5 separate regions of the Homo sapiens genome follow, and regions 1, 2, 4 and 5 are each linked to region 3. The links are contacts of gene promoters, found by promoter capture Hi-C in human tissues and cell types (Jung and others, 2019). All regions are on one chromosome and are shown on one strand. The core of a region is centred on a gene start or on the middle of the fragment in contact, and the rest is flanking DNA. Distances in the headings are between cores, read along the strand shown. Region 1 overlaps GRIA1 (glutamate ionotropic receptor AMPA type subunit 1). Region 2 has its middle 140 kb from the start of GRIA1. Region 3 holds the start of GRIA1 (glutamate ionotropic receptor AMPA type subunit 1). Region 4 overlaps GRIA1 (glutamate ionotropic receptor AMPA type subunit 1). Region 5 overlaps GRIA1 (glutamate ionotropic receptor AMPA type subunit 1).

Region 1 (3,830 bases), core at 1,126-3,625, 140 kb after region 3:
GCATCAGTTAAGAGGGCTTCAACTGTAATTAAGACTTTGAGTAAAGTTCTGTGAAGGATACAAACTAAATGTTGTGACCGAGAACAGCAGGATGACCTGCTTAAGGTGGTCCTTGCAAGATAACAAGAAGCCAGCCAAGCAAAAGTAGGGGAGAAGAGTTTTGGGCAGTGAGAACCGCATCGGGGGAGGTGTGGTATGTTGCAGAAGCAGCAGATGAGGGAAAGGGAAATGATAAGGTTTTTCAGGTCAACAGCGCTTAGACAGTGCAGATTCTCAAAGGTCATGCAAAGGAGTTGGGACTTTATTCAAAGCATGATGAGAAAGCATGAGGGGCTTGAGGGGATCTGTTTGACAGGATGTGATTTCCATTTTCAAAAGAGCTTCCTGGCTGCTAGATGAAGGATGGATGAGAACGGAAAAAGGGAAAGTGGGCAAGGTGGAGGCAGGGATGAATTAAAGTGACAAAGGCAAGTGATAAAGTGCAATAAGTCTACAGTGACAGGTGAGCAGTGGCAGAGCCCTAGGCCAGGGTGAGAATGGAGATGTAAAGTGGGCATTGTAAATACATTTGTGACATCTTTAGAGGGACGTGCATCCATATTTTCTTTAGTCAATCTGCATGACCAAACTTACAGCTAATTTTTGAAAGGCATAGGTGATCTGATGGGGGAGAAAATCCTACCAAAAGTCAGGCAGCTGGGTTTTCTTTTTCTAGTTTGATATTTATTGGCTGTGCTACTCAGAGCAAGCAACTTAACTCTTGGAAGCTCATCTAGAAAAGGACAATAATAATATCCTGTGCAGCCCACCTCATATTTGGGTTATGCAGTTTAAATAAATAGATGGCTTACATGTATCTAGGACTTTGGTAAGCTTATTCCTTCACTTGATCCTCACGGCGCATAAGGCAGATACTATGGTCCTCACGTCACAGGTGAGCAGACCAGTACCTGTTCAATAAACCGTTATTGAACATCTACTATGTCAGGGTCAGGGACAGGCCCTGAGACTTTTGAAATAGATTAGACCCAGCCCTGTCCTACAGAAGTTCACAGTCTGATGAAGAAGACAGATATGAAAATGTGAAATTATAGAATATCAAGATACATGCTAAGACAGAAAGTACATTAGAACCTTAGAGGAGGAAGAAATGAATTTTTTCTGGAAGGAGTGAAAAGCTTTCCACTGGAGTCAACATCTGGCTGGGGTCTTGAAGGATGTGTAGAAGTTTTCCAGGTATGGAGGGTCATTTTTGAGAAGGATATGCAAAAGTATGCAGGCCTGGAAGGAAATGGTTCATATGCATCTATGTGGGTGGGGCCTCAGGTGATTGGCAAACTGTTAGGAATGAGGCTGGAGAGTGAATCAGGGGCAGGGAGGCTCCTGCTCATGGATCTGTGAGTGAGTGAGTTATGCAAAAGCAGGAAAACTAGTACATTTGCTTCATTTTCATTCTTTCCTCAAATGCTTCCCCCAGTTTCATAGTATACATGTTCCTGTGCCTTATACTCCCTTCTTCCTTGCTTACTGTTTCCTCCAGAATTAATTTGAATCTCAGCCTTTTTCCTGGAACTCTTAATTTTAGCAGGGATATACAAAGGGAACACTCCAGGATAGTGAGAAATGCCTTTTTTTCTCCAAATGTCTTCCGGAATTCTGTTACTTAGCAGGAGTTGTTTCCTGCCATGTTTTGAGAAACTTTGAAAAGCGATTCAAACGTTGGTGCAAAGGGAACTAAATACTTGGTAGTGAGGAGCATCTTGGCAGAGAAGGCAGCTGAGCTTTTGCTAAAGTCTCAGTGGTTGAAATTGTCCAGGAGGCCTGAGTTTTGGTCCCTGGGCTGGGCAGCATGTGCTCTTGGTTGTCATGCCTCCATTCCTCCTTCTGGAAAATAGTAAAGAAGAAAATGTATAAGTTAGAGAGGTGAAAGAGTGTTAGAGCTAATTAAATCTCACTTATTTTACTTATGAGGAAATAACTCCCAAAGAGGAGAAATGACTAAGTTCATATAAAGAACCTGCAGCTAACTTGGTCATTTAGTCATATAAAGAACCTGCAGCTTACTTGGTCATTTATGCATTTATTCCATTCAGCAGACATGTTTCAGTGCCTCCCATGTGCCAGGCACTGTGGTAGATGCTAGGACAATAGTGATAAGTAAATAAACATGATTCTTGCCCTAATCAGGGAGATGAAATTAAACAAATAAACCAAAAGTTAAACAAAATAATTAAAGATAGAGATAAGGTATGATGGAAAGAAACAAGGTACCGCAATAGAGAATAAAGAGTAGGGACCGGGCACGGTGGCTCACTCCTGTAATCCCAGCATTTTGGGAGGCCGAGGCGGGTGGATCACAAGGTCAGGACATCGAGACCATCCTGGCTAACACGGTGAAACCCCATCTCTACTAAAAATACAAAAAAAATTAGCCAGTCGTGATGGCAGGCACCTGTAGTCCCAGCTACTCGGGAGGCTGAGGCAGGAGAATGGCGTGAACCCGGGAGGTGGAGCTTGCAGTGAGCCGAGATCGCGCCACTGCAATCCAGTCTGGGCAACAGAGTGAGACTCCATCTCAAAAAAAAAAAAGAAAAAAAAAAGAGTAGGATGAGTATTTTAGAGAAGGCCTCTATGAAGAGAGAACATTTTAAGCTGAGATCTGAAGAATGCGAAGGGGTCAGCCACTTAAAGAGGGTTGGAAGAGCTTTCTAGGAGATAACAGCTTGTGTAAAACCTCAAGGCAAGAAAGTCGGGACTGTCCTGAAAGGTAAGAGAAAGACCAGCATGAAGCCCAGGCAGAGGTGTCATGGCCTGGAAGCAGATGTGGTGGGAGAGATAGGCAGGGCCAGAACTCAGAGCCTCAGAGTTCAAAGTGCCCTTATTGGCAGACTCTTGATTGATCTCACACCCCTGCGGAAAAGGAAAGGCAAGTATACGTGCATTGCAAGACTCTATTGGCCGAGCATTTGTTTCAAATGTCGTTTTCGCAGCATGCTTTGCTGAGACCATAGATTACAAAAACAGAAATAAAAATGATTCAGCTTTTCTTCTGTGTCTACCCCTCAACTTAATTAGTGCTCACAGCTCCAGAAATCAGTTGAGGGCAGGGGTCAGGAGTGAATTCAGATATAGATGAAGTGGGACTTAGTTTCTGGTGTTGCCACTTGGTTTTAAAGATGCAGAACTTCTTATCTTCCATAGCTTTATTTTATCCTTCATTTTTGTCCTTTCACTTCCTCAGTGGATAAATCCTAGCTAGAAGATGAATTTTGCTGATTTAGGGCACCCTCGGGCTGTCCTCTGTAGCTTTCAGTAAAGCTTTGTCTTGATTGACAGATGCTGATCAAGTTCATGGGTATGCATTACAGTGTACGTTTGCTGGTTGGCCTAGGAAAACCCATTTGCACGTATGACTTTCATAGGAAAAGAATGGCAAATAAGAAACAAAAGATTTTTTTTCTGCCACTCACCCAAGGAACAGAAATTAAGACAGCCAAAGGAAGAGTCTGCCTTCATTTAACGGATGATTTACCTGGTGTTCCTTGCGGTAGTGGTTCATTCGTGAACCAGCAGAAGGTATTTTGTGACTATGGGGATTGCGGAGATGACTGGGCCAGGAGGGGAAGCTGTAAAGCTAATCTCTCCCACAACCCACTTCTCTTTGGCTAATGGCTTTGCTTTTGTTTGTTCTGCTTTGGCTGGTTCATGTGCTAGTTCCCAAAGGCTGCACAAAGGCAGAGCTAGGTAGATGTACTCCCTACCAGGGCTCTTTAGTGAATCCCACCTCCTAGCCCCAGATGAGGCTGAGTGAACACTCACTCCAGCCTTGG
Region 2 (4,292 bases), core at 709-3,208, 140 kb before region 3:
ATAGTCTCATTATGGCCAATTTCAAACTACCAATTAGATGTCATTGGACAAAGAGTTGGGAAGAGACATGCACATTCCATTCTCATGAGCCAGCTCTACCATATCACTGCCTGTTGTCTGCTTCTAGAAATTCTACACATCCTTCAAATGTCAGATCCAGTGAGTCTGTCTTCTAGAAGACTCCTATGATTCTACCTTTTATGCTGACTCTGGACCATTTAGAATCACTCCCTCCCCTGTTCTGTCTTCTCATTGGATATGACTTGAACCTATTTGCAGTACATTTTTTATTCTACCTTAAGTCCTAAGCAACACGTTAGCAAACAATAATGCCCATCTAAAATGCATGATGATTTCCTTTGTAATATATGTTGTTTTGGGTTTCTCAGGTCAACAGACTCTGCTTTAGACGTAGAACTACTCTTTACTATGGTTATGCTTTTGTTACTCTGTGAAGAGATCTATAACACACGACATACACAGCATTGGTTTCTTTCATTCTTCCACTCAGTGAACAAGAGTCAAAGGGCCATGAGATACCATGAGATCAGAAGAACATGGCTGTCAGAATCTTGAGATCCTACTGACTCAAGAATTCAAAGTCACAGGGATGGGCAAAATGTTATCTCAAACCTAGCCCACAGAAATATATTTTTCCTGAAGTTGTACAGCTCACGTTACTTCCCTCATTACATCTTATAAAATTTAAAGGGTGTATGTTTGGAGTTCAACAGACCTGAGTTAAAGTCCTGGCTCTACCCCATTCTAGCTAGATGACTTTGGACAAGTTATTGACTCTCAATGCCTCAATTTCCTCGTGAGCAACATGGAAGCATTCATATGTAAGTTTGGAGCTATCATACTCATTAAATAAGATAATACTTATAGATTATAATACAGTGATGAGTTCCCTAGTCAGTTCAGTGGTGGTGGTAGTAGTAATTAACATGATAGTGTATTTTATAATCTATATCTGATAATTAATAATTCTTTTAAACTTTTATTTTCAGTGTAATTGCAATTCTAATGTGAAAAATATTCATGTTCTACTTGTGCTCATTTATTCCACATCTTTCCTGGCAGCAATGGGCATCCACGAAGCAGGCATGTATATCACTTTTGCTATCCTGACCCTTGAGTGTAATTATCCAGTCTCTGTAGTTAATGTATGGTATCTGCAGTCATTACCATTTGTAGTTCTTAATCTCTCCTTCATCATTCTGGCTGCCTTTGGCTAAGAAGCATTATTCACGCATTTACAATCAACTCTCAAAAACTCAGCTGTGTTATTTGACCTCATATTTCCTCTCTCTTCCCACTTCATTAGTTATATTTTTATAGAATGGTCACCTTAAACCCACAAAGAGAGGTAGGAGCAGATAGAGAAAAAAATCTCTAGTTGGATCAACTAATGATTCAAGTGCGGATAAAACAGGGACCTAGTCTTTTAAACCAGTATTTTCTTGCCTTCACACCTCTCCTGGATAAGCTAGGTGGAGGTTCTCCCACCACAGTGAATAGACAGAAGAGCATCCTTCTAAAACGTTCCTGATGAAGGTTTATTTTCCTGAGCCAGGAGTGTCCTCAATACACCATGAGCCCTGCTATCAAATATTTGTAGAAGATAAGTGGCTCTGAATCACAACTGCTTTGAAGCCAAAATCATTTTTGACAGACACCTTCTGCCACCCTACAATGCCAAGTTAGGTCAGCACTAACAATTCTGACAACAGGTCAATTTATTTGATTATTTTATTACATTTCACAACTAATTTTTTCTCTGGGAGTTCACCAGGGTGTCACATGATTTGAAGTTTGTTGTTATTAAAGTGTACTATTGAGGTATTTTTAAATTGCTATACTGGTTTATGGGAAATACTTCCTGGAAAATATTCTAGGCCAGTGACTCTCAGCCTTAGCTACACGTTAGAATTAACTGGGGGAGCTTTTGAAAAAAATCCCAATTTCCAGGCTACATCACAGAGCAACTCAATAAGAATTTCTGGGGTTGAGACCCAGCCACTAGTATTTTTTTTTAAAACAGCTTAAGTAATTCCAGTGGGTTGCCAAGATTGAAAACCACTATTCTAGGCTAAGATGATCATGGCCATAATCTAGGAAAGTAGTTCTCAAACATTTTCTATTTGTTTGTTTGAAGCAAGGGCATTCTTTTATCAAATAAAATTGTAAATCAGATGTGACAGACTCTTCTGCTCTGGAATGTGGGCTGAACTTAAAATCTACCTTCTAATTAATAGAATACCATAGACTAACACACAAGTAATAGGATGTCACTTCTGATATTAGGTTACAAAAACACTGTGTTTTCCATCTTGGATTCTCTTGTTCTCTCTTGGATCACTTACTTCCAGGGGAAGCCAGTGGACATGCCATAAGACAACCTTGTAGAAAGTCCACAGGAATGAGTTGGGAAGTGGGTTTTCTGAGATCTGCCAACTGCCATGTGAGTTAGCTACTTCTTGGAAACAGATCCTACCCAGATCAAGCTTTGAAACAACTGCAGCCTCTTGAACAATCTAAAGCCAGAACAGCCCATCTAAGATTCTTCCAATCCCCAACCCACAGAAACTTTGTGAGGTTGCAAAGGGAACAAAGGAGAAAGGAAGGGACAGAGAGAAAGAAAAAAAGAAAGTAGTAACACAAAAGAAAGAATACAAAAACACTGTCTGTCCACATGTCGATCTCATTAGATTTATAGATTGCATCTCATTGATCATAAGACAGGACACTAAATTAGTGCTTAATAACTATTATTAAATACATTTTTAACTCTCCTCTTCTGCCTAGATCTTTTCCCTCATATTTATTCCTGCACTGCATACCTGTCTGTGAGTCCTCAGGGTTCTGACACTGACCATGTCTTTGTAGCTTGATTGTATTAAAGCAGAAAAGCAACTCACGTTTGTCAACTGTCTCCGAAATGCCAGGAATTTCTCTGTCTTTTCTGTGGCACTTCATCTAATTTCCACAACCATCTTCTAAAGTGTCATTATTTCTATCTTGTGGATGAGAAAGCTAATGTCAAAGCAGTTTAGAAACTTTCCAAATATCACATAGATAAGTAGGAAAGTCAACATGTGACCTCAGAACTACCTAAGCCCACACACATTCTTTATCAGGTAATGTTTTAATACCTTACAGTAGATAACATTAAATTTAAAAATAAAAATGACCAGAAGCATTAATTTGTAGGTATCTTGGAGAAACCCTTAGAGTTGGGAAGAGTGAGAACTCTGGATCCCATCCCATTCCACAGATGAGAAAACTGAGGCCCAGAGAGAGAAAGTGACTCATACAAGTTTCTATAGCTCTTAAATGTCGGATCAGGGTATTAACAAAACTCTCCAAGAGGCAGGACCCTTGGCACTGAGGAATAGGAAATTCGGTTTCAGATATATCTGGTTTAAGGTCTGTCTCTGCCAATTTATTTATTAAGGAATATTTATTGAGCGATTCCTACGTGCTGGTCCTAGTGTGGGTGCTGGAAACTGAACAAAACTGTAAAGACCCGGCTTCAATGGAGGTGACATTCTATTTGGGGAGAATGAATGAGAGATAGAGAGAGACATTAAAGTATATAATTTCAAGTAGTCATAGAAATGGTAAAAAAAAATAAATAAATAAATAAAGCAAAGTCATACGACAGAGTGAAGGGTGAGGCAACTTTGAAAAAGCATGATCAAGGAGGGCCTCTGGGAGGGGGTGACAGCTGTGCTTAATCCTGACAGAAAGATGCAGCCAATCACATACCTGAAGAGGAAGGAATCAAGCAGAGGGCACAGCACATGTAAAGGTCCTGAAGGGAGAATGAGCTTGAATGTGTGAGGAGCAGCCACTGACCGGTTGATTTTCCTTGGGCAAGTTATTATGTTTCTCTGGGCCTCGTTTTTCTTATTCCTGAAAATGACAATAACACTTTCTATACAAGACCTGGCATATGATAAGCACTCAGTAAATGTTTGTGGAATAAATGACATTGATTCCATTCTTTGTTTATTTCACCCTTTGCTCAGGATCATGTCTAAATGGGTTATTCAGGCAATTTTCTGTTCTCGGGGTTCTCCCTTCTACCAATTAAAAAAACAAACAAAAACAAATTCAAGTTGCATTGACTCAAGTGCCTTACCCAAAGCAGTTGTCAAGGTGTAAAGTTGTGCTCAGGCAGGGCATCTGAATTTCTCTCCCTGTCGTTCATCCAACAGTCTGGATTTGCTTCCTGAATATTTGCTGTCTTAAACAGTCTCCCTCCAGATGCAGGGCATTAATTCCAA
Region 3 (4,372 bases), core at 1,016-3,515:
GACCATACTTGAGCAGGGCAATGACGTAGACCTCTGTTTTAGGAAGATCTGCTTGACTATATGATTTATAATGACCATGGAAAATTCATCTTTTTGACTCCCTTAAAAGTCCCCTCCCTACAAAGTATGCAAAACAAATCTTACCTAATGCAGGGGGACATTGAGGTTTTGCTTGTAAAGGGTCTAAAGAGCTTCCTCTAAAAGGTGATTGCAAGGTGTGAAGCCTTTAATGACAGCCTAATTATTATTATTACCAGGCACAAAGCTTAGGGAACCTAAAAGATCCCCAGGTACTATTCAAAGTAGTAAGATACAAAAACTGAAAATGGAGAAATTAAAAGATGGAATCATTAAATCAGAGACTCTTAATGTTGGCAGAGACCTTAGAAGTGATCTTTCCTGATTCTGTTCTCTCATCTTCCTATGCTGATGCTTATTCTTCCTTTAGAAGGTTCCTACCCAGTGCTTGCTGTTATTAGAGCCTAAGAGTTAAGAGCTGGGGCCTGATGGTGGCATTTACTGTGTTTAAATGCCCAATCTCTTTCATTAGCAGTGAAAACTTGGGGTGAGTTTTTAGACCTCTGTTTCTTCATCTATAAAATGGGCATGAGGCTACCTACACAGGTATTGTACAAATAAATGATGCAGGTGCATTTCTTAGCATGGTACCTGGCACATTCAAAATAGTGAATAAACATTAGCCTTAAAAATTATTTTAGCTAATTAATTAATATATGTGAAAGTGCATAGGAAATCACAAAGCATTTGACCTCCAAGTTGTTCCTATTTTGGGGCTTCATTGTACATGGTCAGATATTTTTTACAAATCCCAGTCCTTGTAGCTGTCACTCAAGTCCACATGATATACAGTCCTGGTGAGGGAAGTGAAGAGTCTGTGGATAAAATGGCCTATTCATATGGCAAAGCAAAATGGAGTCCAAAGTCTATTATTTCTTTCTTACTAAAGACAAAGTTGACTTTCCTTTTCCTGGATCATCTCCTGTTGGACAGGAGTCCTGGCCAGGGCAGTAAGTCAACTGGTAACGGCCAAAGCACTCAAGTTTGTAGGTTGTACTGTACATCTTAGTAGGTCTGTGTCTTTATGACTTAATCCCAGAAGTCTTATCTTTTTCATCTGTAAAACAGGGCTCATGGCCACTTTACAGGTTTGGAGTGAAGATAGATGGATAAAAATCTGTAAAGTTCCTTCAAAAACTGTATTCTGTGGCGGCTAGTGGCTGCTGCTTTGCATTTAACACTACTATCCTGAACACAGCTGATCTCTCTACAGGTTATTTCAGCAGAAGCCCTGGTCTAGGAGAGTCTATGAAGTTCCAGCTTACACCAGACATGACCAGCATCCAGAAAGACCTGAAAGAAGCTTGAATCCTCTCACTAGAATCCCTGCAAAATGACTCATGTAATTGCTCTGTGTAAGTATCCTTAGTCTTTATTGTACACCCACACGATTCTGATGCTATAGACTCCTGTGGAATGCAGGGAAAGAGAGAAGGGGGCCCATTTTAAATGCCTAGGATTGAAAAGAGACCACCGTTTCACTTGTAAAGGTAGACAGGGACTGTCAAATACCTGGTCAAAATACCTGCCAGTCACTCCAGATCCTCCCTTGTTTGTCTATCTGTCATTCCTTCCATTAGGAGAGAGAAAGCTTTTTTTTTTTTTTCCTTTAAATTTCCTAGGAGGGATTTCTAGGGTCTTTCCCTCAGGAATTAGTTGTAGGAATAATTGGGCCAGTGGAGTGCAGGAGATATATCCAGCGCAGCCCATGCACTCCTAGAAAAAGTGACCTAGATCAAGCAGCTGGTGGATTGAGGACTATTGTGGGGACCCCCTGCCACCTACTGACTTACAGCTGAACCCACATTCCCAGCAGCTTCAGCCTGGGGGCTGGGGGAGCGGGCAGACCGAGCTCAGAAAGGCAGGGGAGGGTAAAGAGGACTGTGGGGTTGCCCCTTTCAGGACCAAGTGCCACGTGTCACACACCCCCACCTCCACCTTTCTGCACACACAGAAAGGAGGATAAGGTGAGGATGGGAGGAAGGGGGAACAGGTAGGGAGGTCGGCTGTGGAACTCCAAGCTAGCTCGGTGGGTATTAGCATAGAGCTTGCTGCCTGTGTGAGTGTGAGGGGGAGAGCGAGAGAGAGCAAGGGAGGGAGAGAGAGGCAGGCTGCGAGGGGAGAGGAGAGGGAGTGGGGGAGCCAGCGCTCCAGCTAGCATGAGGACGGGCTTCTTTTCCCGTGCTCAGTTAATCTGGCTGTCAGTTGGTGTTAACGCTGCAGTTTAAGTGTTCGGATTCCAAGGGAAACAGACAAACCTCACGAAAGGAAGGAAGCAAGCAAGCAAGGAAGGAACTGCAGGAGGAAAAGAACAGGCAGAACAGCGAGAAGAATAAAGGGAAAGGGGGGGAAACACCAAATCTATGATTGGACCTGGGCTTCTTTTTCGCCAATGCAAAAAGGAATATGCAGCACATTTTTGCCTTCTTCTGCACCGGTTTCCTAGGCGCGGTAGTAGGTGCCAATTTCCCCAACAATATCCAGATCGGTGAGTGAGGGGGCAGCCTGGGGAGGGACTTTCTGGGTCTGGCCAGGGATTTTTTTGGGGATAGGGGTTGTGTACCCCCTCCCCGGTACTGACTGTTTTGCTTGGCTCCCTAAAGCTGTGCTGCGGTAACAGAAGGGAGACTTGGGCTTACAGCCAGAGGAGGGGGCTTCTCCTGATCGGATGAGGGGCAGAGGGGAAGTGTTCACACACGCACACATACCCTACTCGCACTCCAGGCAAGAGCATGTGAAATGGAGGAACCATCGCTTTGGAGGAAAAAAAAAATCAGGCTGGAAAGGGTGGTGGGTGTTTAAGGAGTTAACTCTATTGCTTGGTAGATGGTGCTTGATTCCATTTTTAATGTAAGTATGTATGGTGTGTGTGTTTTCACGTGTGTGATTATATATTACATATGCACATATATATGTAATTGAAGGAGGCAGTGCTTTCTCTGCTGGGGGACAGAAAAGAGACCCTCGAGAAGAAGGAGTGAGGGGTGCTGGGTATATTGCAGCCACTGAAATAATGCCAGAAGGCCCCCACTCCAAGGCGGGTAGGCTCCCTCTCCTGTTCTGGACTCCTCCAGCTGCCTTCTCTTTGCTGTCTGCCATGCTGCGCTGGTGGTCTCCACTCCCCCGATCCTGGAACTTCCTCGCCTGCCTTTTCTCCGTTCCTTCCTTGCCCCCTCCTCTTAGATTTCCTATCCACAGAGGTCTACCTTTTACACACACAAACACACACACGTACACATGCTCCTTTCTCCTCCTGTTGGCTCTCCATTATCCTTGTTACTGGGCTCCATCCTCTCAACTTGGAGGCAGGTTTCAACATGCTGCATGCTTTTTTTGTTCCCCATTTCCCCTTCTTAGTTGTTACACTTCTCAAAGGCCCCGCCACCCTCCCTGTATTTCTGAGGGGACTGACAGATATTGCTACTCCTGATAATCATGAGGGAAAGCAAAACAAACAGAAGCAATAACACCAATCACAAAGCATGTCCACAAGGGCTTGGGGCTTCCGTGTGACCAGCATGTCAGTGTCGTTTGTGTCCCGGAATGAAGCAAGCTGCTGTGTTTGGAAGCATCTTCGTTGGTTTGGTTTCTAGTCTCTCTCCCCTGGTAGGGAGATAGCTCCACTAGGGAAAGTTCGCATTGCTGGGAGTTTGTGCTCTTTTGTGAGTGTGTGTTTGAGGGGGGATGTGGTGCAATTGATATTTTGTCGGGCATACATGTGCTGCAGTACCCATCTCTTTCAGCCTCTCCAGCTAGCTGGCGGCTTGGAGTGGCCATGGAGTAACTTGCTTTGTTTCCTGACACCTGTTAAGCTACATCCTGAAGTGTGTACGTATCTGTGTGTTAGTGCCTAACACGCAAAACTTCCTGCCTTCAGGGGAGACACTTCCCTTGTAGCCCAGCCCGTAGCCTTCTACTCCTCAACCTCCCATCCTTTCTCTTTCATTCATTGCAGAGGAGGAGAAAGGGGACAGGGAAGTGTTTGGGGTGTGGTCATCTGGGGGGAAGGGGGAGCATCATAATCAAGAATTTTTTTTGTTTTCATTCTTTAAAATGGGAGCACTTGTACATGTGGAAATCACTGGCTCTTACATGTGGCATTGTTTACATTTGTGCTTATATACTACCTATCCTTTGTGGCTTGGAAGTGTTTGTCTAGTATATTTGTGTATATAGTAAATGGTATAAATGCATGAGGATGTTTCATGTATGTGCTATGTTTTCTCATGTATCTCTGCATATTTTTAAAATTATATTTAGCCCTAACTTGGTTGTTCAACTGATAAAGCCATTG
Region 4 (3,857 bases), core at 815-3,314, 250 kb after region 3:
TATAAACCAGGTAGGCAGAGTGAGATAAGGGAGACAGGTGTGGAGGGCTAGATGGAGAACTGGGCACAGCAGCAGACTGCATGCATGAGGTCAGAACTGAGCTGAGCCTGTCCTCTGCTGCACTCTCAGCACAGTGTCAGGCACATAGTAGCCTTTCATAGTCACAGCAGGGACGAAGGAAGGATAGAAGGACAGTTGAGTCCAAGTTCTAATCCTGTCACTTAGAGGAATGTGGCCAACCACTATCTTTTCTGACTCAAGCTCTTCATCTGTAAAATGGCAACTGGGGGAAAATACTTCTTCCTAGGGAGTTGCTGTGGGAGAGGAACTTGTGGTTGTCATGAAAGTTGTCCACCAGATATATCCAGCTCTCTTCCTTTTATGCACAAGGCAAAATTGCTGGTCCATTTCCATACTGATGCTAGTTGCAGACATTGTATTTCATCTGGCCAGTGAACTATGAACAGAAGTGATGTGTGTCACTACTGAGAAGAAGCTTTAAGAGCCAGTATGTATGTCACTGGGGATGTTCCAGATGGCAGTTTCTCTGTCATTCTTAGCCCCAGGAAAGTGTGGTAGGACAAGAACCTCCAACCAGCCTGCCATAGATACGTAACCTGAGCAAGAAATACATCTGAAAAGACAACAAGTCTTGGCAGGGATGTGAAGAAATTGGCTTTTTTTTTTTTTTTTTTTTTTTTTGAGATGATGGAGTCTCACTCTGTCGCCCAGGCTGGAGTGCAGTGGCACAATCTCTTCTCACTGCAAGCTCTGCCTCCTAGGTTCACGCCATTCTCCTGCCTCAGCCTCCCGAGTAGCTGGGACTACAGGCACCTGCCACCACTCCTGGCTAATTTTTTGTATTTTTAGTAGAGATGGTTTCACCGTGTTAGCCAGGATGGACTCGATCTCCTGACCTAGTGATCCGCCCACCTCGGCCTCCCAAAGTGCTGGGATTACAGGCGTGAGCCACCGCTCCCGGCCAGAAATTAGAATTCTTATACACTGTGAGTGAGAATGAAAAATGGTTCAGCCACTATGGAAAACAATATGGAGGTTCCTTAGAAAATTAAAAATAAAACTACCATATTATCCAGCAATCCCACTTCTAGGGGTACTTATACAATATAATTGAAATCAGCATTTTGAATATATATTAGCACTCTCATATTTATTACAGCCCTATTCACAGTTGCCAAAATATGGAAATAACCTAAATGTACATTGACAGATGAATAGATAAAGAAAATGTGGTGTACACATACAGTGGAATATTTTTCAGGCTTAAAAAAGGAAATTCTCTAATATACAACAACATGGATGAACCTTGAGGACATTATGCTAAGTGAAATAAGCCAGTCACAGAAGGACAAATACCGCATGGTTCCACTTATATGAGATATCTACAATAGTCAAATGCATAGAATTAAAGAGTGGAATGGTGGTTGCCAGGGACTGAGGCAGGGGGAAATGAGGAGTTACTAATCAGCAGGCATAAAATTTCAGTTAAGCAAGATGAGTAAGCTCTAGAGAGCTGATGCATAGCATTGTACCTATAGTCAACAATACTGTGCACTGAAAACATTTTGTAAGAGGATAAATCTCATGTTAAGCATTCTTAACGTATAAAACTAAAGCTTTTTTTAAAAAAAAAAAAAAAAGAAAAAGAGGAAATATGCCTAGTGTGTTAAGCCAAGATCTGGGGATTTGCAGGCTGTTTGTTATCACTGCATAGCATATCACAGCATACAGAATTTAACAGAGAAACCCCTTTATACAACCTAAAGTTTAAGTAAATATAATAGCTAGGAAAGATACGAAAAAAAATATGTTGCTTTAGAAGAGATTGCACCTGGCTGAGGGGGTCCAGAAAAACTTCTTGAAGAAGTTGTCATTGGAGATGGATTTTGAAGTGAGGAAGAATGTCTAAAGGCACATATGGGGAAGCAAGATAAGAAGAAGGTAGGAGTGTGCAGGAAGGAAAGTACTCAGAATGGACAGGGCGGTGGATGACTAACAATAGTCACGAGAAGTAGCATAGGTTACCACTCACTCTGTCAGTCGCTGTCCTGTGTGACTTACCTGTACTTATTCTTATTCATTTTCCATCACTGCCATAACAGAACTTAAATCTTACAGCGGCTTAAAACAAAACAAATATATTATCTTACAGTTCTGTAGCTCAAAAGTCCAGTATGGGCTTTGCAGGGCTAAAATAAAGGTGTGAGCAGGGTGATATTTGTTTCTGGGACCTCTGGGGAGAATATGGTGTTTTGCTCATTCAGGTTGTTGGCAAAATCCACTTCCTGTGTTTGTGAGACTAAGATCTTGGTTTCTTTCATGGTTCTCAGCTAAGGGCTCTTTCCTGCTCCTAGAGGATACCCTTAGTCTTCGACTTGTGGCCCCCTTTTGCTCTTCTCCAAGCCAGCAATGGAAGATCAACCTTCTCTCATGCTTTATATCTTTCCTATGTCTTCTTCTGTCTTACTCCTTGAGCAACTCTTCTGCCTTCCTCTTTCAATCTTAAGGTCCAACATGATTGCATTGAGTCCACCTGGAAAATCTTCCTATTTTAAGATCCCTAACCTTAATTCTGTCTGAATGGTCTCTTTGCCTTGTAATGTCACATATTCTCAAGTTCTAGGGATTAGAGCATAGATGTTTTTGGGGGGCAAATTTTCTGCCTATCACACCTTACTTTGTGGGTGAGGAAATTGAAGCTTAGTGTGCTTAGGTAACTTGTCCAAGGACACCACCCAGTTCTTGGCAGAATGGCTTTTGATCCCAAGCAGCCTGAAAGTGAGCCTTTATTCTTAACTGCCTCTTCACCCAGAAAATAGAGAGGAGAAAAGTGGAGACCGAGGCTAAAATGATAGATTAGGAATTTATTGCAGACATCGTCAAATGGCAGACACAAAAAAATGGCTTAAGGGAGTATTGTATAATGATTGTCAGTCACCATACATTAGTTTTCCATTGCTGTGTAATGAATAACCACAAACTTAGTAGCTTCGACAACACCCATATATTACCTCATGGTTCTATAGGTCAGAAGTCCAGTAGGCTGTGACTTGATTCTCTGCTCAGGTTCTCATAAGACTGGAATCAAGATGTCAGCCTGCTGAGCTCTCCTCTGGAGCTTGGGGGTTCTCTTCCAAACTCCTTTCTTTTATTAGCAAAATTCAGTTTCTTGTAGATATAAGACTGAAATCCCCATTTTCTTGCTGGCTGCCACTGGGGACCACTCTCAGTTTCTTGAGGCCATCTCAGATACTTGCCCATGGCCCCTCCAACTCAGTGATAGGACCCTCCCTCAAATTAAATCCCTCCCACTTCAAATCTCTCTGTCTTCCTCTTCTTCCTCCAGATGGAGAAAATTCTTCTTTTAAAAGACTCATGTCATAGATTAGGTACGCCCAGATAATGTTCCTGTCTTAAGTTCAACTGATTAATAAACGTAATTACATGGGCAAAAGCAAAATCCCTTTTGCAATTGAACATAACATAATCATAGCAGTAACACCAGGGGGCAGAGGTCATGGGGCGATCTTAGAATTCTGCCTACTGCACATCCTATGCATAACGGGGTGGATAATCTCATGCTCATTGGACATATGTGGAGCACAGAGGTTAAGGTCCAATGGCAGAGCTGGACACAGGGCCCAGGTCCTAGTGATGAACATAATATCATGTCCCAGCTAGGAAGGGCTGCTTCTCCTCTTTGAGAACTGGGGAAGAACAATTCCCATTTCCTGAGGGTGAGGATGAAGTTGAAGGTTCCTTGGTGCCTCTTTCAACTCAGAGCAGGCCCAGAGCCGGCTGTGTCTCCAATTATCTCCTTGTTAGAGGGAGGGCAT
Region 5 (4,069 bases), core at 987-3,486, 210 kb after region 3:
TGTGAGGATGAAAGGAGTTAAAACATAAAAAGCACTTTAAAAAGTCCCTGAAATGCAAGCATTCAGTAAATGATAACTAATATGATTTCAAGTCCAGAGCCCAATCCCTTCTTAGGAAGAACAGCATAGTGGCTAAATGCAGCCTCTGGAGAGAGATTGTCAGGGTTCCAGGACAAGCTCAACCACTTTGCAGCTACTTCACCTCGGGCAAGTTAACACACTCCCACAGGCCAGACGAAATGGCATGAAAACTGTTGAACACTTAGCCTCTGACATAGCAAGAGCATCATTAGTGCTGGCAATTATTGTTGTTAATGGCTGCGAGATTACAGGAAAAACTATTTCCAACTGAAGGAACTGGGAAAGACATGAAGGTGAAGGTGACATTTCAGCTGACCATTTGGCAAATGCCTCAGTTTTTGTGAGCCTATGCTGAGTTCTGGCTGTTGATAGACCTGTTCATCCCAATGCATATGCACTTCTAGTTCTCTTTCCTTTTTCCTTTGTATCTAGAGCCAGCAGAATGATCACAAAACAAAACACAATTGTCTAAAGCAAATAGAGATTAGAGACAGAGATAAAGAGAGATAAGTATAGGAGGTATAGCTTTAGGGTGTGTATGTGTGTGTGTGTGTGTGTGTATTAGTCAAGTCATTCTACTGTTTCCAAACTTTCAATGATCCCCTGTTGCCTTGAGGTGTAGTCTACACTGCTTAGCCTGGCCTTCAAAGCCATCTGCTACCTATACCCAGATACCTACTGCCCTTTTGGGCTAACTCTATCTTCCACCCAGGACCCACAGAACTTAAACATCTGGGCAGATTCCTGTCTTCATATCTTGGCTCATATTCTCCCTAACCTGAAAGGTTTTGGTCCAGACCATTCATCTCTCATGATCATAAGCCCTGATTCCTCCTGTTGCATTTTTCCCTGTGTAAGATCCCACACTTGGCTTTTGCTTCTCTGAACTCCTTAGGCCCACTCACTTGTCACTTCTGCGGCCATGTCATGTCTTCCCATGGTAGACCAGAGGCGTTCTCAGAGCAAGCCCTATCTCTCAGACTTCTTTGCATCTCGTCAACCCTGCCTGACAACAAGCAACACTAATGTTTTAGCTCAGAGCCTTGTGCACAATAGCAGTTCAATTAATATTTCTTGAAAGACCTTGGAAAATGAATTAGTATAAATAACCTACTCAAATTTGAAAAATTAATATTGTCAACCATAATTTTTAGACACTCCTATATATTCAATATTGTAATAGTTTATACTTGGAGACAGAAGAAATTTTTAAAAATAAAGGATAAACAACCATCATAGGAAGTTAAATCTAGATGGAAAAATACAGTTAACCTAAAAATAAAGTAAAAGAATGTAATGTTTAAATCATATGATTCCAACTATAGTTCAGAATGAGTTCACTGAAGTGCAGGGTTAGTAGACATGGGGGAAAGAGGGGTTTGACCCTGTGAACAACTGCAGGGAATTAAATCCCATGGTCCTGGCTTGCATTGTACAAAACAGACTGGCTGTGTAAACAGTTAAGCCCTTATCCCTCAGAGGTGGCAATTTCCAAACTGAACCAATTATTGTGGGGATTTTCCCTGGGAGCAAAATTGGGGGCACCTGAAAAGCACTGTGCTTCTTATTATTTCTGTTTACCAATATTTTAGAGCTCGGTGTGTCCAATTCTTCATGAGCTCCTTACTTGCCTGTCTCTGGTATTGACTGGGTGACCCAGAGCAGGCCAGTTCAGAGGAGGCTGGCCCACCTGACACCTCCACTCTCTTCTCATTAACAGATTGGTTACTGGAATGAAGATGATAAGTTTGTCCCTGCAGCCACCGATGCCCAAGCTGGGGGCGATAATTCAAGTGTTCAGAACAGAACATACATCGTCACAACAATCCTAGTGAGTACTCAGTCCTTCATCAAGGTTACTTGGGATTCAAGCTAGGCCAGCACAAGGGTTTTCCACCAGGACTGAAAGCTGGCCTTTCTTCTTGCCAAAACTGTGTAATAGATAAAAGCAGCAAGTCGAAAAGGGAATGCCCTGAAAATGAGAGGCTCTGAGTTTTCACTCTGTATCTCTTAGTTTCACTGTCTCATCCTTTGTACCCTTGGGTAACTTACTTACTTTCTCTTGAGCCAGCTTTCCCATATTTAAAACATAAGAATGACACTAAATTGTGCTGGTTTTCATCTGTCCTCCCTCAGTAGAAGCTATTTTCAAAGAAAGTCCAATACATAAAGTAGCTGTAAGTGAAGATGCTGTAATTTTCAGTGACTGATCATGAGAAACCTGGAGCCTGTTTAGGGTCTATTTCTCCTTCAAGATGACCCCAGAGGTATTTCCAAAAAAAATACAAAATATCCTGGAACATAATTTGAAAAGCTGTATGCCATATCTCAGTGATAAAACATTCTTATTTTAACAAAGTTTGCTTCCTTAACACAAGAAGCTTGTAATGGGGTAGGGAGTGAAGACATTTAGGAAGTGAATTGAGGGGCTAGAGAGCCTTCCCCAGTGTTAACCAAACATGATATTATGCTATGCCAAAGTCCTCCCTACCCATGGGTGAACCCATAACCCACATTCTGCTATCTCCCCATTTCTCTTCCAGGAAGATCCTTATGTGATGCTCAAGAAGAACGCCAATCAGTTTGAGGGCAATGACCGTTACGAGGGCTACTGTGTAGAGCTGGCGGCAGAGATTGCCAAGCACGTGGGCTACTCCTACCGTCTGGAGATTGTCAGTGATGGAAAATACGGAGCCCGAGACCCTGACACGAAGGCCTGGAATGGCATGGTGGGAGAGCTGGTCTATGGAGTAAGTTCACTGCAGGGTGGGAAATTAGAGGGCGGAGGCAGAGGGTTTGACAGGAAATCATTTGGTGGTTGGGTGGCCCTGCCCACAGATGTCTATGAAACCCTGTAATTGAGTGTTGTTGCTGCTGAACAGATGAGTCATCCAAAATCCAATTTCTTCAGACACTCTTTGTTCAGGTTACTGGTCCCAGGTCCCTCAATCCCACTCAGAGTCTTGTGACGTCAGTTGATTGTCGTCCAACACAGGTGACAGCATAGCTCCAAGATCAATTTTCTTGAGGCAGACTGCTGAGTTGTCTATACAAAGTCACTTGTGGCTCTCTCAGTATCAGTTTCTTCTCTGATATTAAATGCATCTGGAGCCAACCTAACTTTCTAGTTACTTGCCTCTCTAGTTTCATGCTCTCTCATGAAATTTCCAATTCAGTCAAATGCCCCTTAATTACTCTGTTCCCTAGAGTGCTCCCTTCCACTCTCCACCCCTAAGATACTACTCCTTCAAAACCTATATCAAATAATACTTTTTTCAGGGTGTGTTTCTTTCTTTCTTCTCATAATAGGTATGAATGTGCCTTTTAATTGTTCTCGCCTTCCCCTATAGAATTTAGTTGCTGGTTTTTTTTAATGGTTTACCCTGCCTTATATAACGGTTACCTGTGTAACAGGGGTAGGACTATTCTATCTTTATAGTGCTCACCACACTTGAAATAACTCCATGCACAATTGCTATAAAATCTTCAATAAATTACAGCAGTTTTGAAAAGCTGCTGAATGTCCCACATTGTTTTAAGCATTTGGGGAATTATTGAGAAGCAAAAGATTTGATCTTTTGCTTAATACTTTATGAGGTAGAAAAGACCCCATCTTTTAACATTTTATGGGGTAGAAAAGACAATGTGAGAAAATAGTAAAAGGTAGTATAGAATAAGGAGTCTATATTGTATGGCTCAGCTAAGGGCTAACTAGAGTTTGTCTAGCCCTCAGTGGGGATGTGAAACTTGAAAAATGACCATATTTAAACAGACCGAGAGGCCGGGCACAGTGGCTCACGCCTATAATCCCAGCACCTTGGGAGGCCGAGGCAGGTGGATCACCTGAGGTCAGGAATTTGAGACTAGCCTGGCCAACATGGTGAAACCCCATCTCTACCAAAAATACAAAAATTAGCTGCACATGGTGGCGGGCACCTGTAATCCCAGCTCCTTGGGAGGCTGAGGCAGGAGAATCACTTGAACCAAG

What was found. Contacts are between HindIII fragments. The study calls those that stand out against the background at their distance.
Region 1: a fragment that was not itself captured here is called in contact with the fragment with the promoter of GRIA1 in region 3 in 1 of the 25 tissues and cell types used here (H1 embryonic stem cells).
Region 2: a contact is called between a fragment that was not itself captured here and the fragment with the promoter of GRIA1 in region 3, in 1 of the 25 tissues and cell types used here (adrenal gland).
Region 4: a contact is called between a fragment that was not itself captured here and the fragment with the promoter of GRIA1 in region 3, in 3 of the 25 tissues and cell types used here (aorta, hippocampus and liver).
Region 5: a contact is called between a fragment that was not itself captured here and the fragment with the promoter of GRIA1 in region 3, in 1 of the 25 tissues and cell types used here (lymphoblastoid cells).

Annotation. Positions count from the first base shown.
Region 1 is chr5:153,631,741-153,635,570 of GRCh38, forward strand. The region is part of intron 2 of GRIA1 (glutamate ionotropic receptor AMPA type subunit 1); the gene reads left to right. Among named protein-coding and RNA genes, the nearest start is that of GRIA1, 140 kb to the left of the region's middle. The HindIII fragment of the contact is 5,028 bases long and covers 1-3,830 here.
Region 2 is chr5:153,345,827-153,350,118 of GRCh38, forward strand. No RefSeq gene overlaps it. Among named protein-coding and RNA genes, the nearest start is that of GRIA1, 140 kb to the right of the region's middle. RefSeq lists an enhancer at 3,968-4,292. The HindIII fragment of the contact is 9,148 bases long and covers 1-4,292 here.
Region 3 is chr5:153,488,405-153,492,776 of GRCh38, forward strand. GRIA1 (glutamate ionotropic receptor AMPA type subunit 1) reads left to right here and starts at 2,266. Exons shown (of 16, transcript NM_000827.4): 1 at 2,266-2,566. The coding sequence starts at 2,485. The HindIII fragment of the contact is 6,455 bases long and covers 1-4,372 here.
Region 4 is chr5:153,740,290-153,744,146 of GRCh38, forward strand. The region is part of intron 11 of GRIA1 (glutamate ionotropic receptor AMPA type subunit 1); the gene reads left to right. Among named protein-coding and RNA genes, the nearest start is that of LINC01861, 160 kb to the right of the region's middle. The HindIII fragment of the contact is 5,507 bases long and covers 1-3,857 here.
Region 5 is chr5:153,696,243-153,700,311 of GRCh38, forward strand. GRIA1 (glutamate ionotropic receptor AMPA type subunit 1) reads left to right here. Exons shown (of 16, transcript NM_000827.4): 9 at 1,802-1,912; 10 at 2,625-2,831. Among named protein-coding and RNA genes, the nearest start is that of LINC01861, 200 kb to the right of the region's middle. The HindIII fragment of the contact is 5,190 bases long and covers 1-4,069 here.